Linked DNA regions of Homo sapiens: region 1 is linked to region 2. The links are contacts of gene promoters, found by promoter capture Hi-C in human tissues and cell types (Jung and others, 2019). All regions are on one chromosome and are shown on one strand. Each heading gives the region's core, a stretch centred on a gene start or on the middle of the fragment in contact. The rest is flanking DNA. Distances are from core to core; before and after follow the strand shown. Region 1 holds the start of GPR89B (G protein-coupled receptor 89B). Region 2 overlaps ACP6 (acid phosphatase 6, lysophosphatidic).

Region 1 (5,235 bases), core at 1-2,500, 270 kb after region 2:
GGCTGGAGCCAGTTTGCAGGACTATGAGACTATATAGACTACAAAGCCTAGCTAGGCCCCAGGTCGGCGGCAGAGTAAGCCCCACAGCAATGCGTTAAGCCTTCATGAAATGAGTGTTGAATGAATGAGGTAGTGATTCAGTGTATATTTGATCCACTGCAACAGGTGGGAAGGGGGCAGAGGCAGCTACTTCCTAAAATAACCCTTCTTCAGACTCTTAAAGAACTGATCCTTGTTTTGAATTAAAATCTATCTTCAATTAACTTCCAGTCCTTTGCCCTACAGATAATTCGTAGTGCCACATCAGTTCTACCCATTCTTTCACATGAAGACAGATGTCATGTTCTGAGTCATCTTTCTTCGCCTCCTTCCAGCAGCCCTTATCTGGTGGCTCACATTTGAGCGAGCTCCAATATGTCTCTGTAGAATCTCTCTCTTCTTTTTTCTTTTCTTTTTTTTTTTTTGAGATGGAGTTTCGCTCTTGTTGCCCAGGCTGGAGTGCAATGGCGCGATCTCGGCTCACCGCAACCTCCCCTCCCGGGTTCAAGCGATTCTCCTGCCTCAGCCTCCCTAGTAGTTGGGATTACAGGCATGCACCACCACGCCCGGCTAATTTTGTATTTTTAGTAGAGACAGGGTTTCTCCATGCTTGTCAGGCTGGTTTTGAACTTGCGACCTCAGGTGATCCGCCCGCCTTGGTCTCCCCAGGTGCTGGGATTACAGGTGTGAGCCGGCCCGGCCTGTAAAATCTCTTCAAAGTGTGGTACATGGAGTGCAGTACTCCACCTGTGGCCTGACTGATATGCAGTACAATATTATCACTAAATTGCTACAGACAGTGTGCTTTTCATTGTTGTCACAGAAATGTATTTGGTTAGTTATATTTGTTCATATCTCATCTGACTTTCCAGTCTTCCCTCACTTTGTACAGTCATATTTGCCGAGTCAAGTAAAAGTTATAACATTTAGGACACAATGCCCGACTTACTATAATTACCATTATTATCTTAGGATCATTACAAAACAGAATTACCACTTAGCTCTCAGGCCCTACCTCCTTCAGCCTCAGAAACGTTAACGCTACCTTGCATTGCTGCTTTTAGCACCGCCCCTAATAAGCCCCGCCCCTGGGGCTTCCGCGGCGGAAGCCTAGCGTCCGCCCCACCCACCCCGAGCCCGAGGCGGGGCTGTGGATGTAGCCGCTGATTGGCTGACTGGGGCGCAGCTTGACGGCGTCGGGCTGGAGAGCCGCAGTCCCGGCTGCAGCACCTGGGAGAAGGCAGACCGTGTGAGGGGGCCTGTGGCCCCAGCGTGCTGTGGCCTCCGGGAGTGGGAAGTGGAGGCAGGAGCCTTCCTTACACTTCGCCATGAGTTTCCTGATCGACTCCAGCATCATGATTACCTCCCAGGTGAGTCACCGCCTCCCGCCCCGACACCCGTCCGCCTCCCTTCACCGAATCGCCCTCTCCGGTCCTCCGCGGTGCGGGCTGGTCCGGGGTCTCGCTCCTCTCTTACGCGGCCTGCGCCAGTCACTCTGGCACACAGAGAGGGTGTGCGATTTGCTGCGGCCGGTTCCCTCAGCCCCGGCTGTCAGGAGGCTGGCCTGCGGCCGTCCGCGTCCCCACCCGGCATCCATCCCCGGAATTTCGGTCCACTTTTGGAAGCGGTCCGCCGACCTCCAGGCTAAGAGCCGGCGCCGCCAGCTAAGGCGGCGGTTCTAGGAGCTCCTCGAAGCTTCCGGGCTGCGCCAACTGATCCTGGACTGGGGAAGCCTGTGTGGTTCTGGGCGCGCGGTGTGCGACGCGCCAATACTGGATACTGAGGACACGTCAGTGCAGGCTTTGCTGTTAGATGTCAAATCCTGAATCCGGGTGTGGAGAAATTTGCTGCTTCAAAGTATCAGTATAAGGTAATACCTATGCTTGAAAGTATAAGGTTTCGTTTTTGCACTGACACCTCGTCCTTTATCCTCTGCTTAGTTACCCACCTTTTCCGGATGTTTTTCTGACCCTCATTTCTTCTCCATTGGCCACCTTCATTTGTTTGTACAGTCAACAAACATTTATCGACCATTATATAAAGCTCTGAGCGTAAAAACATGTAAGACACTGTCTCTGCTCAATAGAAGTTTCGTCTAGTTAGCCTCTTGCTTTTACCATGTAATCTATTGTTAATTATTGTTTCTTCCTAGCATTCATCATAGCACTGGCATCATTTATGTCTGTGTTTCTGATTTTGTTTTTTGAGATCCTGCCTTGTTCATAGCTGTATCCCCACTTCCAAATGCAGGCATTCAATAAATAATTGTTGGCCAATATTTGTGAAGCTCAGACTGCCTGTTGACCTTCTTCCCCTCATCTTTCCAATAAAGATTTTGTGTGTGTGTGTTTGTTTTTGCTTGTTCTTTCTCTCAAACGGCAAATAACAGAAACAGTTACCTTTGGGGGCTTAAAGTGAACTAAATTTGTGTTCTTTGATTCAGTTTTTGTATTGCTTCATCCTAATACTCGTCTCCGTAGAGCGGAGCATTGTCCTTTTCTCTTCAAAAACTTGTTTACAATATTTAAGAAAATAAGAAAGAAGGAAAAGCCATCCATAATCCTACCGCTCTAATGCAATAGTTTTTCATTTTTAAAATTTACCACCTTTTCTATAGTTTTCATAAGTATTGTTTTTATTGGCTGCATAGTATTCAAATGTATTAATGTAAAAAAACCTAGACATGTAACTCTTCTGCTTAAAACCTTTCTAAGACTACCCAGTGCCCTTGGTGACAACTCAGGATTATTTTTAGCCTTAGTACCAATTTAAGAAAAATAACAATATTTAATTAGCTTTTCTTTTCACTTAGAATAAAGATAAGAATGTCAGTAGAAAATTGGCTTTGCATTGCAGCCTCTACGATTTTTAGCATGGATATAATTGATACGTTGAACCAAGGAAGTGGCTTTCTAATTTTGTATGCCTTATAATCATAGACTTTCACTTCACACATGTATCCATATGCAGTAATTAATTGTTAAACCTGGTTTTTACAAATGTGGAAGAAAGACCCAAAGATTCCTTTGCATGGAATGTTCTCTGTTCAGATATTTATGTGGCTACTTTATCATCCTTTCGGTATTAATAAAAATGTCGCTTTAGGAAGGTTTTACCTGACACCCTGCCCACAACCAAAGTAGCTTTCCATTTCGGCTGCCTTCTTCCTCATTTCCATGTTTTATTATCTTCTTGGCATTTATTACTATGGTTCATTTGTATATTCATGTGTTTGTTATCTGTCCATGAAGTCCAAGATACTGTCTGTCTTGTTCTCTCCTGTATTCACCAGCATCTAGATCAGTTGCAGGCACATAGTAGAGTTGTAGTGAATATTTGTTTAATAAAAAGCACCTCTCTAGAGAGGTGTGGTTACCTTGGAAACACCACCATTGCCCCCTGCGCCCCTCCCTGCTCATTTTTTCTGTTTTGTATTAACTGAAAGGTTTATTTGAAATGAAATCTGAAATCAGAGGTCACGTATTGAATCTTGCTCACCACGGCACAGGATGAAGTTCAAACTCCTTTACATGGCTTTTCAGGTCCCTTATTGATGGGACCCTGGCTCTTCTCTCTTCAGCTGTGGCTCCAATTTATTCTTTAGACTTCCTGAACTTCTTTTAGTTCCCTAACCTGGCCATGCTATGGTGCCTCCAGATTTCCACACAGTGTGTTTTCTCTTTCTGGGCCTTTTCCTCATATCCCTCCCCTTTAAGCCTTCAGATCTCAAGTTGAACACCCAAGAAGCTTCCCCTAGACTGGACTAGATGTCCCTATACCTACTGCCATAGTACCCTTCACCTACTTCCCCTGTAACAACACTACCACATTGTTTTGTAATTACTTGTTTATCTCCTCCATAGATTATAAACTCCTTGAGAGTAGCATTCATGCTCTCATTTGCCATTCTATCCCTTGGACCTGGCACATATTAGGCACTAATAAATATTTGTTAAATGATTAAAAGGGTGAATAAATGATCCAAGAAAGGTGTCTTTTATAGTTAATTCTTTAATAACTGTCCTGCTGATGGCCATCTTTTTTTTTTTAACAGTAGCTAATTTTCAACCCAGAAGTCACTTTTTAAAAAGCAACTGTTAACTAACTCATGTTTTAAGCCCTCTATACCGTCATAAGACTTATCAGTTCCAGAGTACACTCTTAAGTCCTAAGGTCAAGACTCTGTACAATTCTGAAAGTATTAAGTCTCATTTTTAATAAGAAGCTATACGCCTTCCATTTTATTTGCAAAGCTATTTGAAATTGCATTTTGCTTCTGCTTTCTTTTTGGATCCTCTATAATCTTGCCAGAATTTGTGTTTACTTGGATGTAAATGAATTCTCCAGCTACTTGTGTGTGTGTGTGTAGTTTAAGTCTTTTTTTTTTTTCAACTTTTATTTTATTTTAGATTTGGTACTTGTGCTGGGTATATTGTGGGAGCTGAGGTTTGGGGTACAAATGATCCGGTCACCCAGGTACTGAGCGTAGTACTCAATAATTAGTTTTTCAACCCTTCCCCCTTCTCCCCTCCCCTGCCCCCAAGTAGTCTCCAGTTTCTGTTTTTGCCATCTTTATGTTGGTGAGTACCCAATATTTAGCTCCCACTTAGAAGTGAGAACATGTGGTATTTGGTTTTCTGTTCTTGGGTTAATTTGCTTAGGATGATGGCCTCTAGCTGCATCTGTGTTGCTGCAAAGGACATAATTTTGTTCTGAAAGTCTTTTTAAGCTTTCTTTGTCAATGTGAAAGGAGGCCACAATGAAATATTAAAGGTATATATCTGTTTCTCTTTTCTTCCATTCCCCTCCCCACCATATAAACTTAAAATTTTTGCTTGTTTTCTCTTCCATTTCATAGCAATCTTGGTGATTTTTTTTTTTAATCATCCATTTCCACTATACATACCACCATCAGTCCTAAACTGCCCAACTTCTCTGTCTTCAGTCGTGGCTTCATAAGTCATATAAATATGGTCTCTAAACTCTGAATTTACATCTGTCTCCACCGGTAAATATTTATAATAGCCAAAGGATATCCTGGACATTTTCTCCTAATCTGTTTGACCCTTTCCTTTTCTGCTTGATCTAGATGCTTGGATCCAACTTACTTTCTTAAACCCTCTTGTTCGTTTACCTTCATGTATATGTAAGTCCACACTTGGATCACTGCTATAGTTTGTTTACTACTAATACAGA
Region 2 (5,040 bases), core at 2,125-4,624:
CAGAACACATGGCTGGAATCACTGACACTAGGCCTGCAACCTTCCTATGGGATGGAAGGAAAGAAATGTTAGCTAAAATTAAGGGAAGAAAAGATGGTGATTTATTATTCCAGGTGTCCTTAGCCTATGTCCTGTTATTGCTACACTAGTAATGACTGCTAAGGGGCTGCTCTGGCACTTAGCCCACACTGAAGTAAAGGGGAGAAGTGACCAGAATGCCTGGCATGCGGATACGTGGTGAATGAACGAATAGATGGATGAAAGAAATAAGATGTCAGTGACCATATGTAAGAATTTATAAGGAATTAATCTGGAGGTTTATATGCCCTATCCCAGCTTAAGGATTCTACTTAATGTCCCTTGTAACTAATATACTTTTTTCCTCCTTTCATGCAATTCGTGAAACAAGCAGCTGCCATCTCAGAAGATGTTGCTTTTTCATCATCTTCCATTATTCCTTGCAATCTGGCTCCTGCCCCAACTGTGCTGTAATGATTTCAAAACATCACTAGTGGCCACAGGTCTCATAGCTCCAACTGTTCATAAAACTCTGACACTCATTGAGTCAGATGTGAATACTTCAATTTTAAAAACAAGTCTAATCCCATAGACCAGTTCCCCTTCCCAATCTACTATGTCCCTCTCAATGTTACCACAGTTCTCCTAGGCCCCAAACCTCAAACCTTTGGCTCCCTGTGGATCCACTATCCCCACACCAAGCCCTGTTGATCACTGCCTAGAAGAAAAGTCCCTCCCAATGGTCCTTCCATTATCTTATTGTAGAATGTAAACCTTATTAGTGCCTGTGACAAACTCCTCCCTTTCACCTGCACAATCCATCTATCCATAGCCAACTAATTAATCTTTTTGGAAAAAATATTTTTATTGCATTTAAATATTTTGTTTTATTTTTAATTGACAAATAATTGTATATTGTATATATTTATGGAGTACAATGTGATGTTTTCATATATATTTACATTTGATATATGATTAACTAATGTAAACAAAATCCATCAGCTCACATACTTTCATTTTTACGTGATGAAAATATGTAAAGTTAACCTTTTAGTAACATAGGCATACATCATTTTATTGCTCTTTACAGAGATTGCATTTTTCACAAATTGAAGGTTTGGAGAACTCTGCATTGAGCAAGTCTATCAGTGCCATTTTTCCAACAGCATGTGCTCATTCATGTCTCTGTGTAAAATCTGGTAATTCTCATAATATTCCAAACTTTTTCATTACTATTAAATCTGTCAAGGTGATCTATGATTTATGATTTGTTTTTCTTTTTGAAATGGGGTCTGGCTCTGTTGCCCAGGCTGGAGTACAGTGGCATGATCTTGGCTCACTGAAACGTCTGCCTCCTGGAGTGCAGTGGCATTACCTTGGCTCATCCTCTCACCTCAGCCTCCCGAGCAGCTGGGACTACAGGCATATACCATCATGCCCAGCTAATTTTTTTTTTTTGAGAGACAGGGTTTTGCCATGTTTCCCAGGCTGATCCTGAACTCTGTGATCTTTGATGTTACTATTTTAACTATTTGGGAGCGCCACAAACCGCCCCCATATAAGATGCCAAACTTAATCAATAAATGTTGTGTGTTTTCTGAGTGCTCTGCTGACTGGTATTTCCCCCATCTCTCTCCCTCTCCTTGAGCCTCCTTATTTCCTGAGACACAACAATATTAAAATTAGTCCAGTTAATAACCCTACAATGGCCTCTAAGTGTTAAGTGAAAGGAAAAGTTTCAAGTTTCTCACTTTAAATCCAAAGCTAGAAATGATTAAGCTTAGTAAGGAAGGCATGTAGAAAGCTAAGATAAGCCAAAACCTATGCCTCTTGCACCAAACAGCCAAGTTATGAATGCAAAGGAAAAGTTCTTGGAGGAAATTAAAAGTACTACTCTGGTGAACACACAAACAATGAGAAAGTGAAACAACCTTATTGATAACATGGAGATATTCAATGCAGAAGAAACAGCCTATATAGGAAGAAGATCCCAGCTAAGACTTTCATAGCTAGAGAGAAAGTCAATGCCTGGCTTCAAAGCTTCAAAGGACAGGCTGATTCTCATTAGGGATTAATGCAGCTGGTTTCCTTAAGGTGAAGCCAAGGCTCATTTACTATTCTGCAAATCCTACAGCCCTTAAGAATTATGCTAAATGTACTCTGACTGTGCTGTATAAATGGAACAACAAAGCCTGCATGGCAGGACATCTGTTTACAGCATGGTCTACTTAATATTTTAAGCCCACTGTTGAGACCTACTGCTCAAAAGAAAAAATTGATTCCTTTCCAAATATTACTGCTCATTGACAATGCACCTAGTCACCCAAAGGCGCTAATGGAGATGTACAAAATTAATATTGTTTTTGTGCCTGCTAACACAATGTCCTTTCTGCAGCCCATGGCCCAAGGAGTAATTTTGACTTTCAAGTCTTTATTATTTAAGAAATACATTTTGTAAGGCTATTGTTGCCCTAGATAGTGATTCCTCTGATGAATCTGGGCAAAGTAAATTGAAAACCTTATGGAAAGAATTCACCATTCTAGATGTCATTAAGAACATTTATAAGGAGGAGGTCAAAATAGCAACATTAAGCGAAGTTTGGAAGATTTGACTCCAACCCTCATGGATGACTTTGAAGATTCAGGCTTCCGTGGAAGAAGTAACTGCAGATGTGATGGAAATAGCAAGAGAACTAGAATTAGATGTGGAACCTTAAGTTCTGACTGAATTGCTGCAATCTCATGATAAAACTTGAATGCATGAGAAGTTACTACAAAGAAGTGGTTCCTTGAGAGGGAATCTAGTCCTGGTGAAGATAGTGTGAACACTGTTGAAATTACAACAATGGATTTATTACATAAACTTAATTGATAAAGCAGTGGCAGAGTTTGAGAAGATTGACTCCAATTTCAAAAGATGTTCTATTGTGGGTAAAATGCTATTAAACTGTGTCATAAGCTACAGAGAAATCTTTCATGAAAGGAAGAGTCTATCAATGTGGCAAACTTTACTGTTGTCTTATTTTTAGAAATTGCCACAGCCACCCCAACCTTTAGCAACTACTACCCTGATCAGTCAGCAGCCATCAACATCAAGGCAAGACCCTCCACTGGCAAAAAGATCATGACTCACTGAAGGCTCAGGTAATCACTAGCACTTTTTAGGAATAAAACATTTTTAAATTAAGGTATGTACATTTTTAGACATGCTATTGCATGATAGGATACAGAAGAGTGTAAACACAACTTTTATATGCACTGGGAAACAAAAAACAACTGTGGGTCTCACTTTATTGCGATATTTGCTTTATTGTGGTGGTCTAGACCTGAATCTGCAATATCTTCAAGGTATGCTTGTCTGTGTAGAATCTAAAGAAGTCAAAGTCACAGAATTAGAGAGTAGAGTGATGGTTATCAGAGGTGGGGGGGTGCAGTAAATGGGGAAAGAGAGATTTTTATCAATGGGTACAAAATTTCAGTTACACAGGAAGAATAAGCTTTAGTGATCTATTGTACAGGATGGTGACTACAATAAATAATAATGCATTGTATGTTTCAAAATCACCTAATTAATCTTGCTAAGCCAGTGTCATCATATCAGTAACTTTTTCCTAATGTCTCAGAGGAAAGCATCTGTCCTTCAAGAACTTCTACATCGTGGCTGAGTGCAGTGGCTCATACCTGTAATCCTAGCACTTTGGGAGGCTGAGGTGGGAGCATCACTTGAGGCCAGGAGTTCAAGATCAGCCTGGGCAACACAGCAAGACCCCATCTCTTAAAAAAATTTTAAAAAAGGACTTCTACCCCCTTTGTCCAGCCCCTGTACTCAGCTTCACTGCCTCTTTCCTCCCCTCCAACCTAGAACCTGCCCACTGTTTCTGCATCTTCTTCCAGCTTGCTTCTCTTGCTTGGAGGGACTCCTGTTCCTATCTGCCCATCACCTTGTCTTCAATGTTCAAGGATAGCTCAAGTCTTACTTCCCTATCACTGACCACTCTGGCTTTTGATGGTTATCTTTTAAATCTGAATTCCTATAACATTGATAACAAAAAAAATTTAACTCAATTTCCTACTACTTTGTTTAGTTTTAAAACTAACATTTGGAAACCTACTATGTCACATATCGTCATATTTATCTTCTACCCTCCCCGAACTATCCCAGGAGAATGGTACTGGGAGCCTCAGATTCTCTTGGCATCTAGGGAGCCCTCCATTCTTCCCAAAGGCATGTGTCAGTCCCACTGGCACCTGGTCTCCAACACCTGAACCTCCTTCTGACACATCAGAGGACCAGGTGTTCACAGAGAGGCCTTCTTCCTTCTTTCACAGTTAATCACTGCTCCCTCTTTCTGACCCTCTAACCCCTCTGGATAAAAAAAACCCTTCGAGGGTTCATGGCTCATGTGGCCCCACCTCCTCTCTAGCAGCCCCCTTACCACTTCTTCCCTATTCTACATACTTACTCACTAGCCACGCAACTTCCTTTCCTTTCTCATATTTCATGGCCTTTCAGTATCATGTTTCTTATGCCTGGAATTTTCTCTCCTCATTCATTTAGAAAGACTTTTGTTCATTCCTTAAGACTTAGCTTAAGTGTTCCCAGAAACCTTGGTCATGGCCTTATGCTTTCACAGTAGCTTCAGTGGCTCTCTTTAGTAGCCTTTACCAAAGTGTATTAAACGAGCTCCTTTACTGGTCTGTCCTGGCTTCCTGAGAACAGAGACTCGGTCATCTATTGACTTCTGTTTCCCAGCAAAGGGCCTCACACACAGTAGGTACAATTAATAGCTCCAACAATTTGCCAGCTCCTGTGGAAGATACCCATCTTGAGAAAACTTGACCCTGCCTTTCCTGGGTGTTCAAGTTAGTAAAGAAAAAAGGCCAGCTGTGAATGTAAATGACAGCAATACCATAATAGAAGCTGACATGTGCTGCAAGAAACCATATGAAGGCCATAGCAGTTCAAAGGCAAGACAGACCTTCTCTTCTGGCTGGGGATTCAGGAGAAGTTTCATTGAGGGA

Evidence for each region. The method cuts DNA at HindIII sites, captures the fragments that hold promoters and counts their contacts. A contact is called where the count stands out against the background at its distance.
Region 1: a contact is called between the fragment with the promoter of GPR89B here and a fragment that was not itself captured in region 2, in 5 of the 25 tissues and cell types used here (dorsolateral prefrontal cortex, liver, lymphoblastoid cells and 2 more).

Annotation. Positions count from the first base shown.
Region 1 is chr1:147,927,170-147,932,404 of GRCh38, forward strand. GPR89B (G protein-coupled receptor 89B) reads left to right here and starts at 1,251. Exons shown (of 14, transcript NM_016334.5): 1 at 1,251-1,409. The coding sequence starts at 1,368. It overlaps LOC105371229 (a long non-coding RNA gene), which reads right to left and starts at 1,149. Exons shown (of 3, transcript XR_922074.4): 1 at 1-1,149. The HindIII fragment of the contact is 5,422 bases long and covers 1-2,759 here.
Region 2 is chr1:147,659,852-147,664,891 of GRCh38, forward strand. The region is part of intron 1 of ACP6 (acid phosphatase 6, lysophosphatidic); the gene reads right to left. Among named protein-coding and RNA genes, the nearest start is that of ACP6, 8.2 kb to the right of the region's middle. The HindIII fragment of the contact is 6,095 bases long and covers 328-5,040 here.